Linked DNA regions of Homo sapiens: all the other regions are linked to region 4. Evidence: promoter capture Hi-C in 16 types of primary human blood cells and fetal thymus (Javierre and others, 2016). All regions are on one chromosome and are shown on one strand. The core of a region is centred on a gene start or on the middle of the fragment in contact, and the rest is flanking DNA. Distances in the headings are between cores, read along the strand shown.

Region 1 (2,700 bases), core at 24-2,523, 320 kb after region 4:
TGCAGTAAGCCAAGATCACGCCATTGCACTCCAGCCTGGGCAACAGCGAGACTCTTATCTCAAAAAAAAAAAAAAAAAAAAAAAAAAATATATATATATATATATATACACACACACACATATACATATACATATATGTATATTTAAAATCATTAAGCCTTCAAAAGTTAACACAGATATATGATATTTTAAATGAGACCTAAAAAAATAAATTTAAAAACACATATAGAAAATATATCAAGAGAATGTATAGCTTAATAAATTATTAAGTGAAGACCCTTGTTAGCACTTAGAACTAGAAATAGAGTTTAGCTAGCTATGCCAGAAGCCCCCTCTGTGTCCCATCTCACCACAATTCCTCCCCCTCCCAACAGTAACCACTATCCTGACTTTTATAGTAATCACTTAGGAGGATTTTATTTTAATGGGACTAAAAAATGTAGCTATAATCACTAATGGTAAAATATTAGGCAGTTGAGGGATGCTTGTGGAAACCATGATAGGCAGCCAGACGTCAGCACACTTAAAATTACACCATTTCACACAGTTCCCCTCTGAGCCTATGCTTCATCTCTGCACACATCTTTATAAACATGCATGTATGTCCTGAAGGTGCTACCTCCATTCTGAGGGCTATGACTTATAACCCAGAGGTGCTGAACAGATGCTTGTAGGAGGAACGAATGGATGTTTAAAAAAAAATGAGCTGTTTCACACGTTCATCTATGCATTCTTTCAATATTTAATGAGTGCCTAAAATATACATAGATTCTAACCTATCTGTCCCTCTACATTCTATCATCATTCCTGTCCTCCCCTTCTCCTCGTCTTCCTCTTTTCCCATCTTATTTCTTTCTTTTCCTGTGGGACGGAGCTACAGTGAGTGCCCTGCAGGCAGGATTCAGAGATACAGGAGCAGGCCAGTGGAAACAGACACTATGGAAAGGAGCCAGATTAAATAAGGGCAAAAACAGCCGTATTACATGCAGGAACCAGAATGAAAAGCAGTGATTCACAGAGCACTGCAACTGAGGACACTCCCTTCACTTTGAGAGCTACTGCGGGATTGGGGTCAATGAGGGCTGGCATCAAGATGAAGGGCAGCCAGGCTCCTCCCTGGAGATGTGCTGCCCTTAATCCTTCTCTCCCCACCCCACCCCCACTACTCCCTCACATTGACCAGTGTCCTGGGCCTTTAAGAGTTGGATGGGCTGGACTGGAGAGAGCTCACACCTCTCCCCTTCTTACTGCTTCCCTCCGGCTATAACTTGCCAGTCACAGCAGCCAGCTGCTGTAGAAGAGGGGAGGAAACAAGCCAGTGCAAGGGGAGCAAAAGAGAAAAGGAGCCAGGCTGGGCTTCCTGATCCCACAGCATCGCAGAGCTCGGGAGGCACAGCTCACAGACACAGGAAACACAGGACTGCTATTCTGCTCTCCTGCCCACGGTAAGGATCTGGAAGCTCTGACTACCCTCTGCTCTAAGCTCTGTCTTCCCTGAGTCCCTACCTCTGCCCTCTAGATGCTTATCCACCCTGATTAAATTGTACCCTAGACTCCTTTCCTCATCCCAACAGCTCTACAGGGCTCCCACCTCCTGGTTCTCTCTAGCTTATCCTCCTTTATCCTTACAGCTTTCCTCCTGGCTGTGTCAGTCGCCCTTTATATGAGGTACCTCTTAGCTTATGCAGGGCCAGAAGTGCCAACCCTAGCCACTCCTGAGGTGAACTCCACCCCCAATAAGGGAAGAAAAAATTGGAGTAGCTAAGCTTTAGCATAGATTCATTAACAGTTTGTTGAGGGTTGCAAAATAGGGGTTGGCCAAGAACCATGGGGAATCAGAGATCCCTGGTAATAGAGAGAGTTATGAAAGTCCCTTAGAAAGTTCTCTAAAGAACTTGTTCTTTGCCTATTCCATGGGCCAGAGCAGTTTCTTAGTGCACCAGAGTGCTACGTTGGTAAGAAAACCTACTTCTAGTTCTGCCTGTGCCATTAACTAGCTACGGGACCTGGAGCCACAACTTCCAGATCTGTGATACGAGAGAGTTTAGGGTTTCCCAGACTTGCCTGTGTACCAAGTGTACTTGTTAAAAATAAATATATTATTGAGCCCCACCCTGGGTAACTCTGATCTGGTAGATTTTTGGGTAGGGCTAAGGATCTCAATTTCAAGACATTCCAGAGGCTATTGATGTAGCTGGGAATGTCTGGATTAGATGTGTTATAAAAGAACTGGCCGGGCGCGGTGGCTCACACCTGTAATCCCAGCACTTTGGGAGGCCGAGGCGGGTGGATCACGAGGTCAGGAGATTGAGACCATCCTGGCTAACATGGTGAAACCCCGTCTCTACTGAAAATACAAAAAATTAGCCGGGCGAGGTGGGTGGCGGGTGCCTGTAGTCCCAGCTACTCGGGAGGCTGAGGCAGGAGAATAGCGTGAACCCCGGGGGGCGGAGCCTGCAGTGAGCCAAGATCGCACCACTGCACTCCAGCCTGGGCGACAGCGAGACTCTGTCTCAAAAAAAAAAAAAAAAAGAACCTTCAAGCTCCAACATTCTGTGACCTGTGACCAGAGCCAATTTGTCCTCTATATGAACCAGGTTAGGCATAATCCTTCTCAGAAGCAAGGGAGTAGACAAAATGATTCTCTTCTTTCTTGCCCCTCAGAGAGACCTGAGACACCCTGAATCCCACTGTAATCTC
Region 2 (2,700 bases), core at 58-2,557, 350 kb after region 4:
TCAGGTGAGACAAGGAAAAGGTAGAGAAAGAGGTTCCCAGGAGACCTCTTGCATGTGCTACATAGGAAGGACACAGAGTATGGCTTTTAAGAATCAGGGCAAAAGCAGACAAAAGGTTATGTGGTCCCAGCCTTCCTGAAGAGTCTGGCTGGAACCATCCTGGTTTATGTCTGTTGTCCCAGCATAATTATTAATAGTACCCTCTTTAAGTTTTCCCAGTGTGTCTCAGTTTAGATGATCAATTATATAGTAAGGCACTACAGAATTATACTGTGAAGCAGTTATAGAATTCTGAATTGGAGATTTTCCTCTCTAGTCATCTGCCTTTCCATAGTATCCTTGTGCTTTAACACCTTAGTGTAGCTGCTGAGCCAGTCTGAGGATTGATGATGAGCTAAAGTTGCTTCTAGGAGGAGGCTTAGTGGGTAGCAATCCTCCCTCTATAGATACAGGTAGACAAAGGAGCTTGGAAGTAGGGAGCAGGTCAAGGGTCAAGATGGCTCAAGGACAGGGAGAAGGCAGACCTAGGCCTGTTTCAGTATCAATACTGAGTGAAGATGGAAGGGACAAAAGGGAGGCAGAGGTCTGAGAGGGGACAGAGTTGATCAAGATGACAGCCTGGAAATGTTAAGACAGGGATTTGGATGAATCTATAATGTAGTAACCACTTTCTGTTTAACATGCTTTATAGAGCATTAGGCACAACAGCACATGCGGTTAGATACAACTGTTTTTAGAAGATTCTGAAAGAAAATAGGAATTGACACAGTAAGAAGGAAAGAGAAGATGGAGTGGGTAAAATCCAGATCTTATAGCCAGGGACTTTGATGGAGTGATGGTGAAGAAACTGAGAACTTGCAGGTTAAAAACGCAATGTACAGCAATAAGAAATCAACGTTATAGTCCATGTCCCTCTTTTATATGGGTGATAATTTCAAAGTACTATAGCCAGAGTCCCAGGAAGGTTCTAGTCACCCTTGTACCCCAAAAGCCAGTCTTTCCTTAGGCTCTGAGCTCCTCAGGCTAGCGCTGGTCCCAGTCTGCACATCTCAGACCATACCCTCTTCCTATACAGGAGGTGGGGCAGGCTTTCAGCCCTCAGGTCCAGTGTGGGGAGCGGCAGGAGCAGGAGGGCTGGGATCCTCCAGCTGCACATCATGCAGGTGCACTGTGGGGGTGGTGGGGTCTTTGCCCACACCCTGGTTTGGGTCGGCTTGGTCAGGGTGGTGCCTGCGTACGTGCTTGACCACCTGGAACTTTTGCTTGGCCTTGTAGTTGCAGAGGCGGCAAAAGAAGGGGTGGCGGTCGGTGTGGGTGAGGGCATGATGGCGCAGGCCAGCAGCCCAGCGGAAAGCACGGTGGCACACATTGCACACATAGGGTTTGGCCTCACTGTGCTTGCGAAGGTGGGTGCGCAGCAGGAAGCGCGTCTTGAAGGCCTTGCCACACTGCTCACACATGAAAGCCCGTGCTTCTCGATGCCGGGTCTCCTGGTGCACACGCAGTGCATCAGCCCGGTTGGTGCAGTACTCACACTCGGGACACTGGTATGGCTTCAGTCCTACAGGACAGGGAACAAATCACCATTGAAAGGCGGTGGAGCAAGGTTTACTGGGCCATGGAGTTACTGCAATCAGTGGATATAAAGAATGCAAGCAGCAAGTTGACTAATGACCATCTCTTTGGAATGCTCCAGTCCTCCAGTCCTGTCTGACATTTCTTTTTTCTTTTATTTTTCTTTGAGACGGAGTTTCGCTCTTGTTGCCCAGGCTGGAGTGCAATGGTGCAATCTCGGCTCACTACAACCTCCGCCTCCCAGGTTCAAGTGATCCTCCTGCCTCAGTTTCCCAAGTAGCTGGAATAACAGGCATGGGCCACCACACCTGGCTAATTTTGTATTTTTAGTGAAGACAGGGTTTCACCATGTTGGCCAGGCTGGTCTTGAACTCTGGACCTCCAGTGATGTGCCCTCCTTGGCCTCCCAAAGTGCTGGGATTACAGGCATGAGCCACCGCGCCTGGCCCTGTCTGACATTTCTGTGCCTTTCCAACACAGCGTCCTTGTACATCAACAAGAACTCAATGTTGTAGTCCCAGCAATCAATGTTGTGGGTGCCCAATGGATGCTGATGATTAACGGGACCTCTAACCAACTAGCTACCTGACAGTAATGAATACTCAAATATGGAAGGGTTTCCCCATGGGAAATTATAACCCTCTTTTGGTCACAGAGTACTCATGGAATTCGACAATTCATTTAAACACAACGGCTTGTTCAACTCAAAAAGTCAAAGACCCAGCCTGGGCAACAAAGTGAGACCCTGTCTACAAAAAAATTAGGTGGGCGTGGTGGCGTGCACTTGTAGACCCAGCTAATTGGGAGGCTAAGGCAAGAAGATGATGTGCACCCAGGAGTTTGAGATTGTAGTGAGCTATGACTGCACCACTGCACTCCAGCATGGGCAGCAGAGCAAGACCCTGTCACTGAAAAAAAAAAAAAAAAAAAGTAAAAGAAATACTTAGGAGGGGCCGAGCATGGTGGCTCATGCCTGTAATCCCAGCACTTTGGGAGGCCGAGGCGGGCGGATCATGAGGTCAGGAGATTGAGACCATTCTGGCTAACACGGTGAAACCCCCATCTCTACTAAAAATACAAAAACTTAGCCGGGCGTGGTGGCGGGTGCCTGTAGTCCCAGCTACT
Region 3 (2,700 bases), core at 28-2,527, 300 kb after region 4:
TAAGTGAGCACTGGTTTTTTAATTTTTAATTAAATTATTTATTTATTTAGAGACAGGATCTCTGTCTGTCACCCAGGCTGGAGTAGAGAGGCATGGCTCACTGCCGCCTCGACCTCCTAGGTTCAGTTGATCCTCCCACCTCAGCTTCACAAGTAGCTGGGACCACATGCCTGCTCCACCACACTCAGCTAATTATTTTTATTTTTTGTAAAGACAAGGTCTCCCTATGTTGCCTGGGCTACTCTTGAACTCCTGGGCTCAAAGGATCTTCCTGCCTTCTGCCGTAGTACTAGGAGTACAAGCATGAGCCACTGTGCCTGACCAATTTATTGTTTTTAAAGAGACAAGGTTTCACTATGTTGCCCAGGCTGGAATGCAGTGGCTATTCACAGCCATGATAATGGCACACTATAGCCTTGAACTCCGGGGCTCAAGCAGTCTTCCCACTTCCCTCTCTGGAGTAGGTAGCTTTGATACTGGCACACATCCCTATACCTGGCTATTTTTAAGCTTTTTATTTTAAATATTCAATATATGGATGACTGTCAAAGGCATTGTTGAGCAAAAGAAGCCAGACACATGGGAATTCATACTGTATGTTGATTATGTGAAGTTTAAGAACAAGCAAAGCCAATTACTGGCAATAAGTTGGATTCGTGGTTAGCTCTGAGGAAAGAACATTGACTGGGGAAAGGTACAAGGGAATGCTGGAATCCTGAGTTGGTAGAAATATTGCTTTTTTCTGTTTTTTTTTTTGTTGTTGTTGTTTTTTGTTTTTGAGACAGTCTCACTCTGTCACCCAGGCTGGAGTGAAGTGGAGTGATCTCGGCTCATTGCAACCTCTGCCTCCTGGGTTCAAGCAATTCTCATGCCTCAGCCTCCTGAGTAGTTGGAACTACAGGCACACACCATCATACCCAGCTAATTTTTTGTATTTTTAGTAGAGATGGAGTTTCGCCATGTAGCCCATGCTAGTCTTGAACTCCTAAGCTCAGGCAATCTGCCTGCCTCCACCTCCCAAATATTCTGTATTTTATACAATATTTTGTATTTTAATCTGGTTATAGTACATAATGTGTACATAGGTAAAAATTCAAGGTACACTTAAGATTAGTGCACTTAACACACTTCACTGTGTGTAAGTTTATATTAGGTTCCTATATAACCTGCTGCTATAACAAATTACCACAAGCTAGAAGGGTAGTGGCTTAAAACAATGGAAGTTTACTGTTTTATAGTTTTGGAAGTCACAAGTTCTAAATGAGTTTCACCAATCTAAAGTCAATGTATCAGGAGGGTCATGCTTTCTCTGGAGGATATAGAGGAGAGTCTTTTTGTTGCCTTTTCTAGCTTCTAGAACTGCATTTCTTGCATTCCCTGGATTATGGCCCCCTCCCTCTTCAGATCCAGCGATGTGGCATGTTCAAATCTCTTTCTGCTTGTCACATTGCTTTCTCCTTTGTGGTAAAATCTCTCCCTACATCTCTCTTGTTGTTGTTGTTGTTGTTGTTGTTTTGTTTGTTTGTTTGTTTTAAGAGATGGGGTTTTCTCTGTCGCCCAGGCTGGAGTGCAGTGGCATGATCATAACTCACTGCATCCTTGAACTCCTGGCCTCAAGCAGTCCTCCCACCTTGGCCTCCCAGAGTGCTGAGATTACCAGCATGGGTCACTTTGCCTGGCCTTCTCTACATCGCTTTTAAGGACACTTCGTTATTACATTTAAGGCCTACTTGGATAAACAGGGATAATCCCCCATCTCAAGATCCTTAACTTAATCACGTCTGCAAAGTCCCATTTTTCATTTAAGGTAACATTTGCAGAGTTTGGTGATTAGGGCCTGGATATCTTTGAGAGCCATTATTCAGCCTACTACAGTGTTATAACCCCAATAAAATAGTAAAATAATTCCACAGTTCATTTTGATGAGCAGCCAAGAAAGAGTATCATTATCGTGATTGTCTAATTTAAATTAAACTAATATTTTAATATCTCTTTTATGTAAGAGCTAATGAGCTCAAGTTGAGGGAAAAATTGAGGCCACATATAAGCTTCACAGCCAGGATATGTTTTATTACTGTTAGATAATCTTCAAAGAGAAGCGTGAAAATCTTATTTCTTCAAGATCTTTTAAGAACAAAAAAGGCCTTATCTCAGCCGAGTGCAGTGGCTCACGCTTGTAATCCCAGCACTTTGGTAGGCCAAGGCAGGTGGATCACGAGGTCAGGGAATTCAAGCCCAGCCTAGCCAAGACGGTGAAACCCCGTCTCTACTAAAAATACCAAAATTAGCCAGGCATGGTGGCAGGAGCCTGTAATCCTAGCTACTCGGGAGGCTGAGGCAGGAGAATCAGTTGAACCAGGGTGGCAGAGGTTGCAGTGAGCTGAAATGGAGCCACTGCACTCCAGTCTGGGCGACAGAGTGAGACTCCATCTAAAAAAAAAAAAAGAAAAGAAAAAAGAAAGAAAGGCCTTACTTCATCTGGAAGAGAGGAGGCATAGCTGAATAAATCATCTTGGCCTATGGAAAAGAGAAGAGCCTTAGATATTCAAATGAGGCTTGGATCTCAGCTGTGCCATAGTAACTTTGTCACTTGGGACCTTAACCTGGTGCATTATTGATTAACAGTTATACCGGGCACATAGTAGGTACTCTGTAAATGAGAAGGTCTCTGAGTTTTTAAGAATTTGATAATTACACGGA
Region 4 (2,700 bases), core at 15-2,514:
CTGACACTGTGGTCCTGCCTCTTCCATTTAAGCTATAAACTGGTTCTCTGGATCCTCATGACTGGAGAGACAGAGAGAGGAGGCAGGTGAGAAGGAAGTATGGCTCCCCCTTTGCGCCAATAAAGCAGCCCCAGGAGGCACCTGGCTCCCCTGCCACCACTGGCCAGCCCAAAGTCGCCAGCTTGGAAACCAAAGCTCACTAATGAGATGAATATTTCAGAGCCCAGAGAACTGGACACCTGAGGGCCCTTCCATGACATCTGGCTCTGACCTGCGTTCCCAGGCCTACTTATCCCATGTCCAGGGTGCTCAGGTAGAACCCCAAACTCCTGGGTACCACGTAGAGGCCACAGAGGAGGGAGAGGAGATGGAGACCCCATAGGACAAGAATTGGTGCCGACCCCACAAGGCCAGGGCCTGGCCTCCCAGCAGCCTCCCTCTGCTTCCTCCCACTGGTCCCTGGCTCCTGCCCCAGTCTCTCCACTTGCTTTCCCTTTTCCCGTTTCTCTGTTTTGTTTTCACTCTAACCCAAAGAAGTCACGAGGAGGATGTTACTCCCCTGTAGTTCTGTGAACCCAGCCGGGAAACAGTGGCTGGAAGTGGGACTGGCAGAGGGCAAAGTCATGGTGATAGAGGTGGCCACTTCCCCATGCCAAACACTTGAGCTGCTCATTGGCTTCTGCCCCAGCTGCAAGCTAGGACCCCCCCTTCCCCACCCCTTAAATATTCACCTGTCTACACCGAGACTGGCCTCAGCGCGTGTGGGGGCAACCTGGGGTCCGTGCCAGGCCCTGGCTGTCTCCCCTCCCTCTTCCCTCTTCTCACCAGCTGAGGGCCATGAAAGCCCTCATCCCACACAGCTGGCCACTCGGGCTGGCATGGTGGATAGGCCCTGCGACAGAGAGGCCACTCGTGCCCGAAAGAGGGAACACGAGGACACCCCCAGACCCTGGCTCCGCTCACCAGTGCCCACAACACGCTGCTGGGCTCCCAAGGCTAACCAGGTGCCACAGACCCGGCCGCCCACCCGCGCGCCCAGGGAGAGCGAAACGCCAAGGGCCAGGAGGGGAGATCCCCATCTGGAACGGGCTCCTTGGGCCCAGGAGCGGGCAAGCCGGGAGCGCGCTCCGAAAAGTTTAGGCGCCCCGGCGCATGGCCGCCCCAGCCCTGGACCAGTCCCCACCGCCCACAGTCCCCAACGGCGCCGGCCCCGGCCCCCTGGCTTGCCTGCGCCGTTCCAGACGGAGCGTTCCTGGCCTCGGAGTGTTGCAAGTCCTCCGGGGCCGGGCAGGGCTAGGCTCGGCTGGGGCTCCGCGCCCCGCCCCGTCGCGCCGGCCTCGTGGGGCGGGGCCTCAGGGCGCCGCCAGGGGGCGCAGGGGTCTGTCCCGGGCGCGCGCGCCTCTCAGAGCCCCGACGACGCCTCACTAATAACACAGGGGTATTTTCGGATTTAAAGGCAATACATGATACTGATAGGAAGCTAGAAAAGACACAGAAATGCAGGGAAGAAAGTAATTTCTCTCCACCCCTCCTAGTTCCCAGGGGGAAGCGTTCGCTTTGGGTCCTTCTTTGGCTATTACATTTCTGTATGTATTTTGTTTTTCTACAGTGGGGTATATTGTATGGTGTTTTGTTTACTGCCCTTCTTTTTACTGTTTTATGATGAACATTTTTCTTCTCACTAAATAGTCTTCAAAAGCACAATCTTAATGCCGTGAAGTATTCCATTGCATGGCTATGCGGATTAAATTAATTTCCTACTGGAGGCCGTTTGTTTCCCATTTTTACATTACAAATAAATCAGTAATTAAAATCCTTGATAATTCTGTGTTTTTGAGATAAATGCACTTTTCGAGTTTAAAACTGCAAACATGCAAACCTAGAATCTCTGTTTATAATTACTCAACCAGGAAAGCAGGTGCTTTCCTCAAGTCAGAATTCAGAAGTCCTACATTGAGATGTAGATTACTACTGTTAGGTAGGTCTTAACCCTCATCTCAGTGAAGAATGCAGTAGCAAAGGAGGAAACAGTTTTGAGGAAGTTCTGAAATATTACTGGAGCCTGGGCATGGTGACTCACACCTGCGATCCTAGCACTTTTGGGAGGCCAAGGCCAGAGGATGGCTTGAGCCCAGGAGTTGGAGACCCAGCCTAGGCAACATAGAGAGACCTTGTCTCAATTTAAAAAGAGAAACATTACCGAGCCTTGCCTGAGTTTCTGTGGTTCCAAAGTCCAAGTTCTTTCCATGACACCAAGGCTGCCAGTAGTTGACCAACTCTGTTTAAAGTGCTTATCTCATGTTAATAGCTATAGGTCAGCACCACACCACCACTGAATGTCCTTTTTTTTTTTTTTTTTTTTTTCCAGACAGGGTCTCGCTCTGTCACCCAGGCTGGAGTGCAGTGGCGCCATCTCGGCTCACTGCATCCTCCTCCTGGTTTCAAGTGATTCTCCGGCCTCAGCCTCCTGAGTAGCTGGGATTACAAGTGTGTGCCACTACACCCAGCTAATTTTGTTTGTTTGCTTGTTTGTTTTGTTTGGTTTGTTTGTTTTGTAGAGATGGGTTTTCACGTTGTTGCATAGGCTGGTCTCAAACCCCTGAGCTCAAAGCAGTCAGCCCACTTTGGCCTCCCAAAGTGCTAGGATTACAGACATGAGCCACCACGTCCAGCCCCAAAACAGAGATTTAAAAAAAAAAA
Region 5 (2,700 bases), core at 112-2,611, 380 kb after region 4:
CCAGGGTACCATGGAGAAAATGGAAGCGGGAGACTAACAGAAATAATAAGAGTTACTCAAACACTCTAAAATCTGACTTCTGGAGCTCTGAGATTAAGGCTGAAATTCTAGATCTTTTCAGTAGTGTGATTAGGCGTTAACTTTTCACCTTACCACTGACAGGTCGTGGCCCTGAAGTTCATCCCAAAATTGGGGCGCTCAGAGAAGGAGCTGAGGAATTTGCAACGAGAGATTGAAATAATGCGGGGTCTGCGGCATCCCAACATTGTGCATATGCTTGACAGCTTTGAAACTGATAAAGAGGTGTGCTTTGACAGTTTTGGGCCCTGTCTCCCCAAGCACAAGGGTTCCAGGAATTTCCCAACCTCAGAATGCATGAATCTGGAGCCATCAGTGCCACTGCCTTCTCTCTGTAGGTGGTGGTGGTGACAGACTATGCTGAGGGAGAGCTCTTTCAGATCCTAGAAGATGACGGAAAACTTCCTGAAGACCAGGTATGCTTTCTGCCTTCAACTTCTCCCCACCTCCGACCTCTCTCCAGGTTAGAGAACTGGTAGAGCAAGCTAAGGACACTGAGAGTCTCCATTTCAAAGACTTCTGAGAAGAATATAAGAGTCTAGGTATATAGAGGCAGTGTAGTGTGGGAGTAAATTATGTAAACGTTGGAGTCAAAATATCTGAGCAGGAAGCTTGGCTCTGCTCCTTCCTAGCTGGGTCTCATTGGACAAGTTACTTTAATTTCTTTGTGCTTAGTTTCCTAATTTGTAAAATGGAGATAATAATCATGTTTGCCTGATAAGTCTATGATGAAGAGTGTTAAGTCATGTAATGTGTTTGAATAGTTAGCTATTATTAACATTATTGTTATTAGATACCTTTAGGGAAGAAGGGCCAGTGTAATGGTACCAGAAAGAGGGCAGTAAGAATAAAGGTTGTGGGGAGTCAGGATTTGGCACCAGGACGTAGTGGTTAGCAGTGGGATTTTGTTGCACATATCCTCCAGCCACATTTATTCTAGGCGTTTGTCTGTACCCAAGCAAGTAGGCCCCCCCTGGGATTCATTATTGCAGCATTCTCTTTCCTTCTGAGCACTCACCACTATTTGTAAGTAATCATATTTTTGAAATTATTTTATTTTTAATTGAATTTTATTTTTTGAGACAGAGTCTCGCTTTGTTGCCCAGGCTGGAGTGCAGTGGCACAATCTTGGCTCACAGCAAACTCCGCCTTCCAGGTTCAAGCAATTCTCGTGCCTCAGCCTCCCCAGTAACCAGGATTATAGCATGCGCCACCATGCCTAGCTAATTTTGTACTTTTAGTAGAGATGGGGTTTCACCATGCTGGCCAGGCTGGTCTCGAACTGCTGGCCTCAGGTGATCTGCCCGCCTCAGCCTCCCAAAGTGCTGGTATTACAGGTGTGAGCCACCACGCCCGACCACCATATTTGTTTTATCTGTCTTGTTTGTTTGTCTGACTACTTTTCTTGAAAAAAGGCATTTTGTCTTATTTAATAACAGGTAATGTGTATTGAATATTTACTATGTGCCAGGCACCATTCTGAGTATTATTTTGCATGCTTTAACTCAGTCCTCACAATAATCCTCCATGTAGATGGTGTTATTATATAGATTGTCACCTTAGTTTGCCCATGGTCAAGCAGATAGTAAATGAGATTCAATAAATTTTTCTTGAATGAATGAATGAGCAAATGAAAGAGTGATTAAACAAGGGGAACAATAACTAAGAAAGAATAGTGTGAAGCTCTGCAAGAAAGGGAAGGAAGAAAAGATTAGCAGTAATATTAAGAGAAATTTTTGGGCTTGTCAGCCAGCTGCTGTTTCTAACCTTTTTTTTCTTTCTTCCACCTCTTTAATTTCTAGGTTCAGGCCATTGCTGCCCAGTTGGTGTCAGCCCTGTACTATCTGCATTCCCACCGCATCCTACACCGAGATATGAAGCCTCAGAACATCCTCCTCGCCAAGGGTGGTGGCATCAAGCTCTGTGACTTTGGGTAAAGATTCTGAGCATCCATCTAAGCTTCCAGTTCCACACGGAATCTTTTTTTTTTTTTTTTTTTTTGAGATGGAGTTTCACTCTTGTTACCCAGGCTGAAGTGCAATGGTGCGATCTCCACTCACCACAACCTCTGCCTCCCGGATTCAAGCAATTCTACTGCCTCAGCCTCCAGAGTAGCTGGGATTACAGGCATGTGCCACCATGCCTGGCTAATTTTATATTTTTAGTAGAGATGGGGTTTCTCCATGTTGGTCAGGCTGGTCTCGAACTCCTGACCTCAGGTGATCTGCCCACCTCGGCCTCCCAAAGTGCTGGGATTACAGGCATGAGCCACTGAGCCTGGCCCCACAGGGAATCTTAGACCATACTCTTGACTTATTTGGGCCTCATTTTAGAACCGGAGCTAGAGGCTGGGACTGCTGCTGGGTCTTCTGGAACCTAATCAAAGGTGCTCCCTCTGCTCCGGTTTGGGATATCTCTATGTTAGGTAGTAGTGACCAGGTTTAGAATATCTTTTCCCTTTCCATTTCCATCCCATTATCTTCTGCAGATTTGCCCGGGCTATGAGCACCAATACAATGGTGCTGACATCCATCAAAGGCACACCACTCTATATGTCTCCAGAGCTGGTGGAGGAGCGACCATACGACCACACAGCGGACCTCTGGTCTGTTGGCTGCATAC

Evidence for each region. The method cuts DNA at HindIII sites, captures the fragments that hold promoters and counts their contacts. A CHiCAGO score of 5 or more calls a contact.
Region 1: a contact is called between the fragment with the promoter of PLCD4 here and the fragment with the promoter of TMBIM1 in region 4, in 1 of 17 cell types (activated CD4 T cells). The highest score is 5.7, in activated CD4 T cells.
Region 2: a fragment that was not itself captured here is called in contact with the fragment with the promoter of TMBIM1 in region 4 in 1 of 17 cell types (naive CD8 T cells); the score reaches 6.7 in naive CD8 T cells.
Region 3: a fragment that was not itself captured here is called in contact with the fragment with the promoter of TMBIM1 in region 4 in 1 of 17 cell types (total B cells); the score reaches 5.6 in total B cells.
Region 5: a contact is called between a fragment that was not itself captured here and the fragment with the promoter of TMBIM1 in region 4, in 7 of 17 cell types (naive B cells, activated CD4 T cells, total B cells and 4 more). The highest score is 7.9, in naive B cells.

Annotation. Positions count from the first base shown.
Region 1 is chr2:218,606,626-218,609,325 of GRCh38, forward strand. It overlaps PLCD4 (phospholipase C delta 4), which reads left to right and starts at 1,274. Exons shown (of 16, transcript NM_032726.4): 1 at 1,274-1,445. The HindIII fragment of the contact is 12,670 bases long and covers 1-1,764 here.
Region 2 is chr2:218,637,248-218,639,947 of GRCh38, forward strand. ZNF142 (zinc finger protein 142) reads right to left here. Exons shown (of 11, transcript NM_001379659.1): 11 at 1-1,561. The coding sequence ends at 1,092. Among named protein-coding and RNA genes, the nearest start is that of ZNF142, 21 kb to the right of the region's middle. The HindIII fragment of the contact is 3,761 bases long and covers 1-2,700 here.
Region 3 is chr2:218,589,310-218,592,009 of GRCh38, forward strand. All of the region lies in intron 5 of CNOT9 (CCR4-NOT transcription complex subunit 9), which reads left to right. It also overlaps the pseudogene RNU6-136P. Among named protein-coding and RNA genes, the nearest start is that of PLCD4, 17 kb to the right of the region's middle. The HindIII fragment of the contact is 1,538 bases long and covers 509-2,046 here.
Region 4 is chr2:218,291,239-218,293,938 of GRCh38, forward strand. TMBIM1 (transmembrane BAX inhibitor motif containing 1) reads right to left here and starts at 1,265. Exons shown (of 12, transcript NM_022152.6): 1 at 1,228-1,265. The region is part of intron 2 of PNKD (PNKD metallo-beta-lactamase domain containing); the gene reads left to right. RefSeq lists enhancers at 1-797, 798-1,760, 1,943-2,700 and a silencer at 1,043-1,522. The HindIII fragment of the contact is 24,107 bases long and covers 1-2,700 here.
Region 5 is chr2:218,673,463-218,676,162 of GRCh38, forward strand. It overlaps STK36 (serine/threonine kinase 36), which reads left to right. Exons shown (of 27, transcript NM_015690.5): 3 at 163-303; 4 at 417-494; 5 at 1,881-2,011; 6 at 2,567-2,700. Among named protein-coding and RNA genes, the nearest start is that of STK36, 2.7 kb to the left of the region's middle. The HindIII fragment of the contact is 1,348 bases long and covers 688-2,035 here.